Regions from separate parts of the Homo sapiens genome. Here region 2 is linked to region 1. Evidence: promoter capture Hi-C in human tissues and cell types (Jung and others, 2019). All regions are on one chromosome and are shown on one strand. Each heading gives the region's core, a stretch centred on a gene start or on the middle of the fragment in contact. The rest is flanking DNA. Distances are from core to core; before and after follow the strand shown.

What was found. Contacts are between HindIII fragments. The study calls those that stand out against the background at their distance.
Region 2: a fragment that was not itself captured here is called in contact with the fragment with the promoter of GLIPR1L2 in region 1 in 1 of the 25 tissues and cell types used here (heart right ventricle).

What each region holds. Positions count from the first base shown.
Region 1 is chr12:75,388,431-75,393,979 of GRCh38, reverse strand. GLIPR1L2 (GLIPR1 like 2) reads right to left here and starts at 2,891. Exons shown (of 6, transcript NM_001270396.2): 1 at 2,630-2,891. The coding sequence starts at 2,863. It also overlaps a transcript of CAPS2 not described here. RefSeq lists an enhancer at 2,830-2,959 and a silencer at 2,917-3,089. The HindIII fragment of the contact is 8,343 bases long and covers 746-5,549 here.
Region 2 is chr12:75,231,139-75,236,488 of GRCh38, reverse strand. LOC100130268 (a long non-coding RNA gene) reads right to left here and starts at 1,749. Exons shown (of 2, transcript NR_149000.1): 1 at 1,372-1,749. The HindIII fragment of the contact is 5,670 bases long and covers 1,111-5,350 here.

The DNA of each region.
Region 1 (5,549 bases), core at 1,642-4,141:
GAGGTATCACTTCATAACTGCTAGATGGTTATCATTAAGAAAAAAAGAGGAATAAGGAAAATAAAACAGAAAATAACAAGTGTTATCAAGGATGTGGAGAAATTGAACCCTTGAACATTCTTGGTGGGAATGTAAAATGGTGCAGCCACTATGGAAAACAGAATGGGGGTTCTTTGAAAAATTAAACAGAATTATCATATGATACAGCAATTCCAGTTCTGGGTATATACCCAAAAACAGCAAAATCAGGAACTGGAGCAGATAAATGTACACCCATGTCTATAGCAGTATTATTCACAACAGCCAAATAATGGAAGCAATCTAAATATCCACTGACCAATGAATGGATAAACAAAATGTGGTATATGCATACAGTAGAATATTATTCAGCTGTAAAAAGACAGGTAATTCTGACACATGCTACAACATGGGTGAACTTTATAGACATTATACCAAATGAAATAAGCTAGTAACAAAGACAAATATTATATGATTCCACTTATATTTGGTACCTTAAGAAGTCAAATTAATAGGAATAGAAAGTAGAATGGTGATAGAGGCCTGGGAGGAGGGGAGATGGAGAGTAAAGTAATTATTTGATGGGTATGGAGTCTCAGTTCAGGAAGACGAAAAAATTTTGGAGATAGGTGGTGGTAATGGGTGCACAACAATGCAAATGTACTTAATGCCACTGAACTATACACTTAAAAATGGTTAAAATGGTAAATGTTATGTCCTGTATATTGTAATACAATTTTTTAAAAACAACAATTTTTTTGGTATTTAAAAGCAAGGTAGAACAAAAGTACTACACGGCAATAGCATGAATAAGGATGGAAAGTATTCAGAATTTGTGTTCTAAGATCTTATTAATATTTGGGTGGAGTTTACAGGTATTAACTTTTGGAATTTATAAAAAGTACATACATTAAAATACTAAAAATAACCAATAAAAGAGTTTAAATAAGCTGAGTGATGTCCAAATCTGCTAAAGAAACATTTTAAATAGGCCATACTATTATGATAGACTATACTATTTACAGTTAATATTTATGTCCTAATAAAATACATGGGAAAAATATACATTAACTTCAAGAAAGAAGAAAAAGGTAAAAATTTAGGGTGGGACTTTAACCTATATATCAAATACTATTCCTTTAAAAATGTCTATATTTAAAAATATCGATTGTGGGTATACAGGTATATTATTTTATATACCTTATGTTTGAAATACTATATAATTTTTAGAGATGAGATAGAAAACCTATGAAAAGTTGTATTAGAAAGTATTATGTGTTTATTAATTTTCAGGAGTAAGGATAATCTTCAAATTGGGAAGAAACAGAATTAGTCACAAAAAATGGGAAATTAGTTGAAACTCCCAAATATCCCCAAACTCTATAATTGAATTCAAAAGAAAAAGAATTGGCTTAGAAAAAAGTATCTTCAGCAGATAGAACCAAATGCTAGCATAGTTCTATAAGACAGCATATAATCTGACATGGAAATGCTGACAATATAAAAGGTAAAGGAAATGACGAAGAAAGAACTCAAGTATGTCCTATCAAAATAGTATTTTAAAATCAACATTAAAACAAATGACCATTTTTGTAATTTATTCATTTAGCAAGTAATTGAACATGTCCAAATCAGTGAGGATGTGGTGAAAACAGAACAGCTGGTATTTGCTAAATTTGGCACTACCCTTTAGCATAGCAATTGCTATGTGTTAAATTAATAAAAAATATCATACCCTTAATTTATTTATCCCATTTCTGAAATTTGTGCTAAGAACTAATGCTGAAGGAAGAAAAGACATGTCTAGGAAAGTAGTCCTTGCAATATAATTTATAAGTTTGAAGCTTCTAATTCCCTAAGAGGACAGTTATTTATTTGCCGGATTTTCAGTCATTTTAATGACAGTCAGGAAAACTCAATAGCAACCAGGGAATAGTTGAGTTGTTAAATGACTATAGGGTGTAAAAGAGGGGGAAAGCAAGAACCGCATTGTAAGGTAAGGCAAAATCAGGGTCAAGACTAGGGTGAGGAAACTGAGACACTTCCTTAGGAGCCAAATTTGGAATGGGCACAAAAAAAAAAAATCAAGATAACAAACATTTTTAAAAGGCAAAGCTAATGTGACATCGATGATGGAAAAAGCTAAAAATAAAAATTTCAAATACAAACAGAATCTCATCTTGATTTGCACCACCCTGAGAGTGTCGCACTTGTTTTTCCCTAATCCAGACCCAAGGAACCTGTCTTTGTTAAATTTTTTAACATTTTCTTTACCCTTGATATTGATATTTTTGCACTGATTTTTAATTTTTAAAAACCCGTTGCATTAAAATATCATTTTCTTGAATTGGCGCCCCCTTAAAATCTGCACTTCAGGCCAGTGCCTCCATCACCTTAGTCCTGGCCCTGTGTAATATCATGGTAATAAGCATGTGTTAGAGTGTCCGCAGTTTTTCTCTGTGTAAACTTCACGTGTACTTTAAAAACCAAGCTAAAAGTGCGGTTCTCCGCGATCCTTCAGCCTCAGAGCAGTGGCCCCAACTACCCGAGATCCAGGGAGGCGTTGTGGCAACGGTAGTGGAAGGGTCGGCAAACCGCCTTCCGGCCTCACCATGAAGCGCAAGTTAGACCCTCGGGGAATGACGTCGCCCCGCAGCTCATTGTGGAGGTTCACGTACTCGTTGATAAAGTCTACGTCCTCCTCGTCTGGCAAAAATCTGGCGTTCAAACTAGAACCCAGTAGCAGTAGCCACAGCTCACAGAGCCGCAGCTTCAAAACGCCCCCTACTGCCAGGGGTAGGGACTGGGCCCTCCACTCCCGGGCGAAGGGCCTTGCGGCCTCCATGGTCCACCGGCCGCTGACAGGCCAGTGCGCACGCGCTGGCCGTCCCAGTGACCTGCCAATCTACGGAGGACGCAAGCAAGCCTTGTCCCGCCTCCCGGAAGGAGAAAGGGAGGAGGGAGGAGGGAAAAACAAAGGAGGGAGGAGGGGGTAAGGAGGAGGGAGGAGAGAAGAGGGAGGGGAGAGTGGGTAGGGGAGGGGGAGAGGAGGGGAAAGCTAGACCTGCAGAGTGAAGAAAGCTGGTAATAGATGTCTGACAAACTAAAGAAAGACTTGTGTTACGTGAGTAAGCCCTTTTCACTAAACTAATGTAGTGAAATGTTATCCCGAATTGATTTCTGACACTGAATGATATGTCGTTATTAATGAGTCATCAGTTTGTATGGTAAATGCCAATTGCTGAGTAACAGGTCTGAGGAACCTTCTAATTGTGCCAGGTGAAATGATTTTTCTGCGATACAGATACAAATTCAATTAAATTTTTTTTCCCCATTACCTGTTGAGTTGGAAATTTGGTGCAGGGCCTGCCTTTTATTTTCCTCAGGGACAGAATGGAATACAGAAATATTGCTAGTTCTTAAGGCCAAAGAAGTTCTTAAGGCCAACTTAATTGATGAGATTTTTTTCAGTTTTTAAATGAACCTTTGTGGGAAACCACAAAATAAATGGGAGTGAAGGGAGAGTAGGGATCACCAAACTCTTCAAAGGTTAAAACATTTCTACTTCTTCTCTCATCAGCACAATTCAGACAGCCCGGAATATCAAGATTCATCTTTTTCACTAATTGTGGCATTCACAGTAAGAACGAACTCTTTTGTTTTCTTTTTTTGTTCCAGACAAAATTGGCTAATATCTAGCTGATTTTGGTCTGATCTGTTTACCTCCAAACATTTTCCTCAAAAACAAAACAAAACAAAACCAACTTGCTTTGAAGACTTTAAATTCTAAGCATGGAAAAAAAGCAAGTATTAGTTTTGGAATACACGTTTGCATATTACATATTGTGCTTAATAGCATTAAGCAGATATGGAAAATTGACATTGGGAGAGAATTTTACTACAAAACATTGTAACAGGTTAGCCAAACATTTATAAAAAGAAAAGTGCTTTTAAAAATTGTCTGTGATGCACACAATTGAAAAACAATAGACCTATGTAAGATGGTTTCATTTATGCCCTTGAATACTTACTACTATGACTGCATAGTAGTAAGTTTTAAGTGATTGAGAAAGATCAGTAGACAAGACACAGATCCAGCTTTCAAGCAGCTTACAATTTAGTGAATTAGCAATCAGGCAGTATTTAAAACGTGATAAATACAAAGCCAAAATTCTATTGCTTGGTACTCTTGTGGAGGAGCAGGGAAGCCTTTCTGGAAATTGTATACAGAAAGTGAAACAGACAAGTCTAAGATAGCATTCTAAACAAAGGGAAAAGCATGTAATGTGCCTAAGGAGAGGAAGATCCTAAACGCTAGAAGTATTTTAGTATGGCTAGAACCTATTTAAGGGTGAAGGTGGCAAGTGCTGAAAGATGCAATTCTTTTATTATGGTGGTACTGTTGTTAGACTGCAAAAAATGCTAAAGAAAAAGTATAAATAGAATAATGCAATCTTAGATTTGGAAGAAATTTTAGCCACTATTGCTAGCCTCCTGTGTTAGGTATACTCTCCGGAACATCACTGACAGGTGATCATCACATCCTTTTCTTAAATAATTAGACCAACAGGGAAGCCCATTCCACTGCTAGACATCTCATTCAATAAATATTTCCTTGGTACTTCCTGTGTGTCACAGCCCAGCTAAAGGCTCAAATGCTGAACAAGCTAGACATGGAGTCTATCCACAGGGAGCTTTTAATTAAAGGTGACACAGATGAATCATCAAACAGTTACAATACAGAGTGGTGAATACTATTTTTAATCTATTTCACAAATATTTAATGTGTCAGGCACTATTTAAAATGCTTGGACAATATCAACTCACTCAAGTCACACAAATCTTAAGAAATAGTTATTATCCCTTTAACAGATGGAAAAACAACTGAGAAAAAGAGAAATCAAATTGCCTGAGGCCACCCAGCCAGGGAGTGGTAGAGCTACTTCTGTGTTTTTTTTGTTTTGTTTTGTTTTTTTTACCAATTCCTTTTCTAAAAATAGACTCTTTTTTAATAGCAGTTTTAGGTTCACAACAAAACTGAGAGGAAGGTACAGAGATTTCTCATGTAACTCCTGTCCCCACACATACATAAACTCCCTCATTATCAACATCCCACAACAGAGTAGTACATTTACAACTGATGAACCTACATTTATCCATTATTCCCACCCAGAGTTCATAGTGTATATTAGGGCTCATTCTTGGTGTTGCACATTTCATGGGTTGGTATAAATGTATAATGACATGTTTCCAGCATTTAGTACCATATAGAGTCGTTTTGCTGCCTAAAAATCCCTGGTGCTCAGACTATTCATCTCTCCCTGCCTCCTAACCCCGGCAACTACTAATTTTTTTTTACTGTCTTCATAGTTTTGCTTTTTCCAGAATGTCATATAGTTGGAGTCATACAGTATGTAGTCTTTTCAGATTGGCTTCTTTCACTTAGTAATATGTGTGTAAATTTCTTCCATGTCTTTTCGTGGCTTGATACCTAATTTCTTTTTAGCACTGAATAATTTTTCATTTTCTGG
Region 2 (5,350 bases), core at 2,696-5,195, 160 kb after region 1:
TACAGTGAGAAATCCTGCAGAAAACCACAAAATTCTTGGAAAGTTTCCCTGTGGAGAGAGTACAGAGAGCCACCTGAACCCAAACAACTGAGAATGAGGCCTCGATGTTTACCTTTTTTGTCAAGTATAAAAGTCATACTTGCCTGGAGCATCTTTAGTACCAGAAAGTCAGGAAGTGCTTAAAACTACTCATGTGATTACTCTCTTATTTATTTTGTTGTTCAAATTGTACCAGCTTTGGCCAAAGAAAATAAATCACTGCTTTATCATATGAAGTGACAGTTAGCATATAACATACACTGTCTCCAGACTCTATTTGATCTCTATCTCTTGGATATAGTCATTTAATCCAAAGTTGCTATTCAACTTAACTGAACCACAACCAAATTATATTTCTCTAGCTTTTCTTCAAGTATCTATAAAAGAGATTGCCTACACTCAAAAACTGCCCTACAAAGAGTTTATGACCAAAATTTCTCTGACCTGGAGTCAGAGAAATTTTGGTTTAAGAGAGTGTCAATCAAGAGAATGAGAGCATTACAGGCAGAGGGAAGAGTATGTGCAGAGGCCTTGTGTGGAAAATGCCACTGAAGGATGTCATATTAGAGAAAATTGAATAATCTGTTCAACAAAATTTACTGCATTTCTATTACAGGTTGAGAATTCCTAATCTGAAAATTTTAAATTTGAAATGCTCCAAAATCTGAAACTTTTTGAACGCCAACATGATGCGACAAATAGAAAATACCACACCTGATCTCATGTGATGGATCACAGTCAAAATGCAGTCAAAAATTTGTTTCATGCACAAAATTATTAAAAAATATTGGATTAAATTACCTTCAAGCTACGTGGACAAGGTGTATATGAAATATAAATGAATTCTTGTGTTTAGACTTGGGTCTGATCCCATGATATCTCATTATATATATGCAAATATTCCAAAATCTGAAAATTTTCTGGCCCCACATATCTTGGAGAAGGGATACCCAAACTGTATGCCAGGTTTTTGGATGCAAGGGAGATCTCTGTGGTTGGAGCATAGAAAGCAAAGGAGAGATGGAAAAATGCATTAGAATATATAACTTGCCATTAGTAAACTTACTATTTCCTAATAAAAACAGCTTCATTTTGTAAAGTTCATAAACTATACCGTTATAATCCGTTCTGAAAGTGTTATTTAGATAAGAACAGTCTTCAGGATTTTTCACTTTGTTCTCTGCTCTTTTGAATATTAGAAAGATATTAGATTCTCTCTAGGCTTTCACCAGCTCATCTCTACTCACTAAGATTTCTGAAAGATGAATGCCCATCACATATTCTTCAGCAAATTCATTTGCAAATTATTTTAACACTCCAGGGGTAACTCACCTGATCTAAGAAAATTGGCCTCATTTTGAGAGGTTACTGTGTCTCTTCAAATATCTTATGATCTGGCTTTCAACTCCTGGTTAGTCAGTCTATTGTACTCTATAATCATTCATCTTGTAGGATAACGCAAAATAGTTCAGTTTCATTTTCTTCTCATAATCCATTAATATTCCCTCAAGCTGCTCCTTCTTTGGTAGTTTTTTTGCTCCAAAAATGAGCAAAATTTTTTTAGTTGTCTTTAATATTTTTTTAAGTTTGAATGCATTATGAACCAGACTTCTTGAAAACATTCTTAGGTGTCATTATTTTATAATTGCCGCTGGCTTGTCTTTCTAAGTCAAGTGTATTACTTGATTTAAAAGCATTCTTTATGGCTATATTAGCCTTTTTTTCTTTTCCCTCTATGACCTGTCTCATCAAAATTCCTTCCATAATGATGTAAGCAGAACTATTTTTTGTGGAACATTCTGAAACACTTGCGGTCTTCCTTCTTAGGTTCCAACATCCTGAGTCCATTTTCACTTTGTTTTTAAACTAATAAAAACATTTTCTTCAAAGATTTAATGACTGTCTGAATGTGCTCAGGATTTTCTTTTGGTGCGATTTTAAATTCTAAAGAAGTATTATTTCCTGTCCCCATGGTTCTTATCACTTTTACTTTTCCAACCAATTTTTCCCTTTTGTTTGTTATTAAGTTCAGAGTAGCAATTTCCCCAGTTGCTTCCACTACCCTCCAAGAGGTAAAACTGTCAGTAGAAACAATGTAGTTATGAAGTGTTTTGACAGTATAGGGCACTCCTACCAGTTTAGTGGGCTGACAGCATTTTTTGGTAAGAAAATGGGAAGAAATATTATGGCAGCTAACTCAGCTATAATACAGCACCATAACTTATATGATCTTCAATTTTAAAAAGTTATGGAACAAAGCTGAGCTGTTCTTATACAAGGTTCTACATGATCCAGACTCTGTGCTCCTTTTGAATTTCAAATTATACTAATTGCTTGCTAACAACATCATAGTTTAGCCATGATCTGCTAATATAGCAAGCTTTTTTTTCTTTCTCAGGGTATTTTTTTATTTAGTTACCTATGCCTGGACACCATTTTCCCACCACTGTGCACAAGGGATTCTTTTTAATGTTTAAGTTTTATCTTGCAATTTACTTTTCTATAACAATTCACGGTTTATTCTCTTCATACCATTTATGATAATCTGAAGTTATATAGTTTCTTATCCATTTGCTTTTTATATTACACCAGTGACAAAGTAAGTGCTGAGAGGTAAGAAACTTGGGTGTCTTTTCATTACTGTATGCTCATGATTTGAAGCAGTACTTTGTGCATAGTAAGCCCTCAATAAATAATTGTTAAGTAGATAACACAAAGTATTCTAAAATAAGTTCTTTGCAAAAATGAGTTAAATAAAATTGTTCAGACACTGTTTCTGTTTGTCTTATGTCATTACTAAATTAAAACAGGCAAACCATACTTTTTTTGAGTAACCTTTAGCAAATGGTAACAGAGAAATGCTTTTAGAAATGGCAGCCAAAAAATGCAGATCATCTAGAATGTCTAGAAAAATGGACAAAATATAAACACAAAATTGCTTGAAAGCACATAGAGTCAACAGGTAGTGAGGAATTATGAAGTCAGATTCAGGGATAGATAAAAACTCAGAGAAGTAAGCCTGACACTTGGGGTAGTATTTCAAGAAGAGATACCTGTCAATTCTAGAAAAAAAGGCTTAGAAGGAAATAACAGAGCAAAACCTAGATAGACTTGTAGGACTATGGGAAAATATTGGTATCCAGAATTTATCAAGAAGGGATAGCACTAGTCAATTTCCCACCTTTGGATTGGAATTTGAAAGGTTACACCATAGAAATAAGATTGAAAAATAAGTAGAAAAACCCTTCAAAAAACGTTAGCCCAGATCAAGTCACCCTTATCTCTGTAAAAGGATCCAAGTGATCTATCATTACTAGCTCTCCTAGCTGCATAGATTTAAAAATATTTAACAATATATAGTTATTAAATAGATCAATAAAGAGTATCGTTAAAGGTCAAATTTTAATTTGCAAGATTAACTAAATTAGTCAAGCACTTACTTGTCCTGGATAATTGCTAAGTTAGAATAGCCAATTCCTATTTTTTTTTGAGCAACCCTTAATAAAAGATTATACAGCAGTAAAAGAAATGCTTGTGGAAGGTGCATCCTTTCTAGAGGGAATTAATGTCATCACATTTTCATAACATTTCATTTATAATTTCAATAAAAAATGAAGTAATTCGTGGAGGCAGTCAACATGATTAAAAACCAAGAGAAGAGAATATAGAAATAACCAGTAAGAAAAAGAGAAAATGAAGTAAACAGACACAGACTTTAAAATAACCATGGTGTGCCTGTTTAAGGAATTAAAAGAAAAAAATTGAAAAATTTTACAGAAAAAGTGAAACTATAAATAATAACAAAATGAAAGAGTGATACCAGGAAAACAGTGAAATAGGAGGTGCCTCACTCATATCCCACAACAGCAACAATATTTATCCATGGACAAAATTGCCTTTGTGGGAGCTTTGGCATCCAGGTAGGAGGTTGTGAAACCCAGATGGAGCCCAAGACTGAGTAGTGCCATTTTGAAAAGACACGTATGCTCCCATCTGGCAGGCTTACTGACCATGGTTCTGGCTATAAACCTAAAATCAGCTATGTACCTCTTTGGATTCAGCTACAACTTCATTTGGCCTTAGTTCTAACACCAGAACCATCTGCCAAGAAACACAGGAAAAGCCAAAAGCACCTGGGACTTCAGTTCAGGTTATGGACCCTGAAGTAGTGCATGATCCAACTCTAGCCCCTTCAAGCATGGTCCAGGAGCAGTCTTGCCTGTGGAATTATTTGGGAGACATGACTATCTGTGACCTCAGAGGTAGAACTGCTGGCACTGGTTTGACCATGGATTATGAAGCAGCTTTGTGTCTTGCCTCTGATCCCTCCCAGCTGCTATCTGGGAGCAGTCCTGTTCACCCAGGGACCCAGCAAGAGACATCTGGTAACAGTCCCACTGTCTAGAGATCCAATGGCAGACCATGAAATAGACTCTTGTCCCAACATCAGCCCTACTGACTAAGGTCCTGGAGGAAATTTTATCCACCCAGGTATCAGACAGGATTCATGTATGTCTACCTGAACTACTAATAACAGGCCTGGTAATCATGGATTCCCCTGTGGATCCAGCAGCAGCCATATGACCTGGCTCCAACACCACTCAACTGTGATCCTGGAGGCAGTCTCATAAATCTGAGGGACCTAACAATAGAAGATCTTTACCTGCCAAAACCAGTGTGTAAAGACTGAAGAGCTGTTTGTTTTTTCCTTCAAATACACAGACATCTATGCAAAGCTATGCAGATCATGAAGAATCAGGCAACATAACATCACCAAAAGAAACCAATACAGCCCTAGTAACCATCCCCCAAAGAAATGGAGATCTATGAATTACGTGCCAAAGAATTCAAAATAATCATCTTAAAGATGCTCAATGAGATGCAAGAGAACACAGAAAACTAAACATTATTAGAAAAAAATGAAGGAACAAAATAAGAAGTTTAATAAAGAAATAGAAACCATAAAAGCTAGAATCCTAGAGATAAAAAATACAATAATAGAACTGAAAACATTCAGTTAAGAACTTCAACAGCACACTCAATCATGCAGAAGGAAGATTCGGTTAACTAAAAGAGAGGTCACCTGAAGTTAACCAGTTAGGGAAAAAAAAATAAATGAAAAAGAGTGAAGAAAGCATACAGGAAACATGAAAAGCCTATAACAAACAAACATATACATTAAGTCCTAGAAGGAGGAGAGAGAGAAAATGCCAGAAAACTTATTTAAAGAAACAACAACTGAAAACTTTCTACATTTTAAAAGGAATATGGACATCTGGATTTATGAATCTGAAACATACCTAATGAAGAT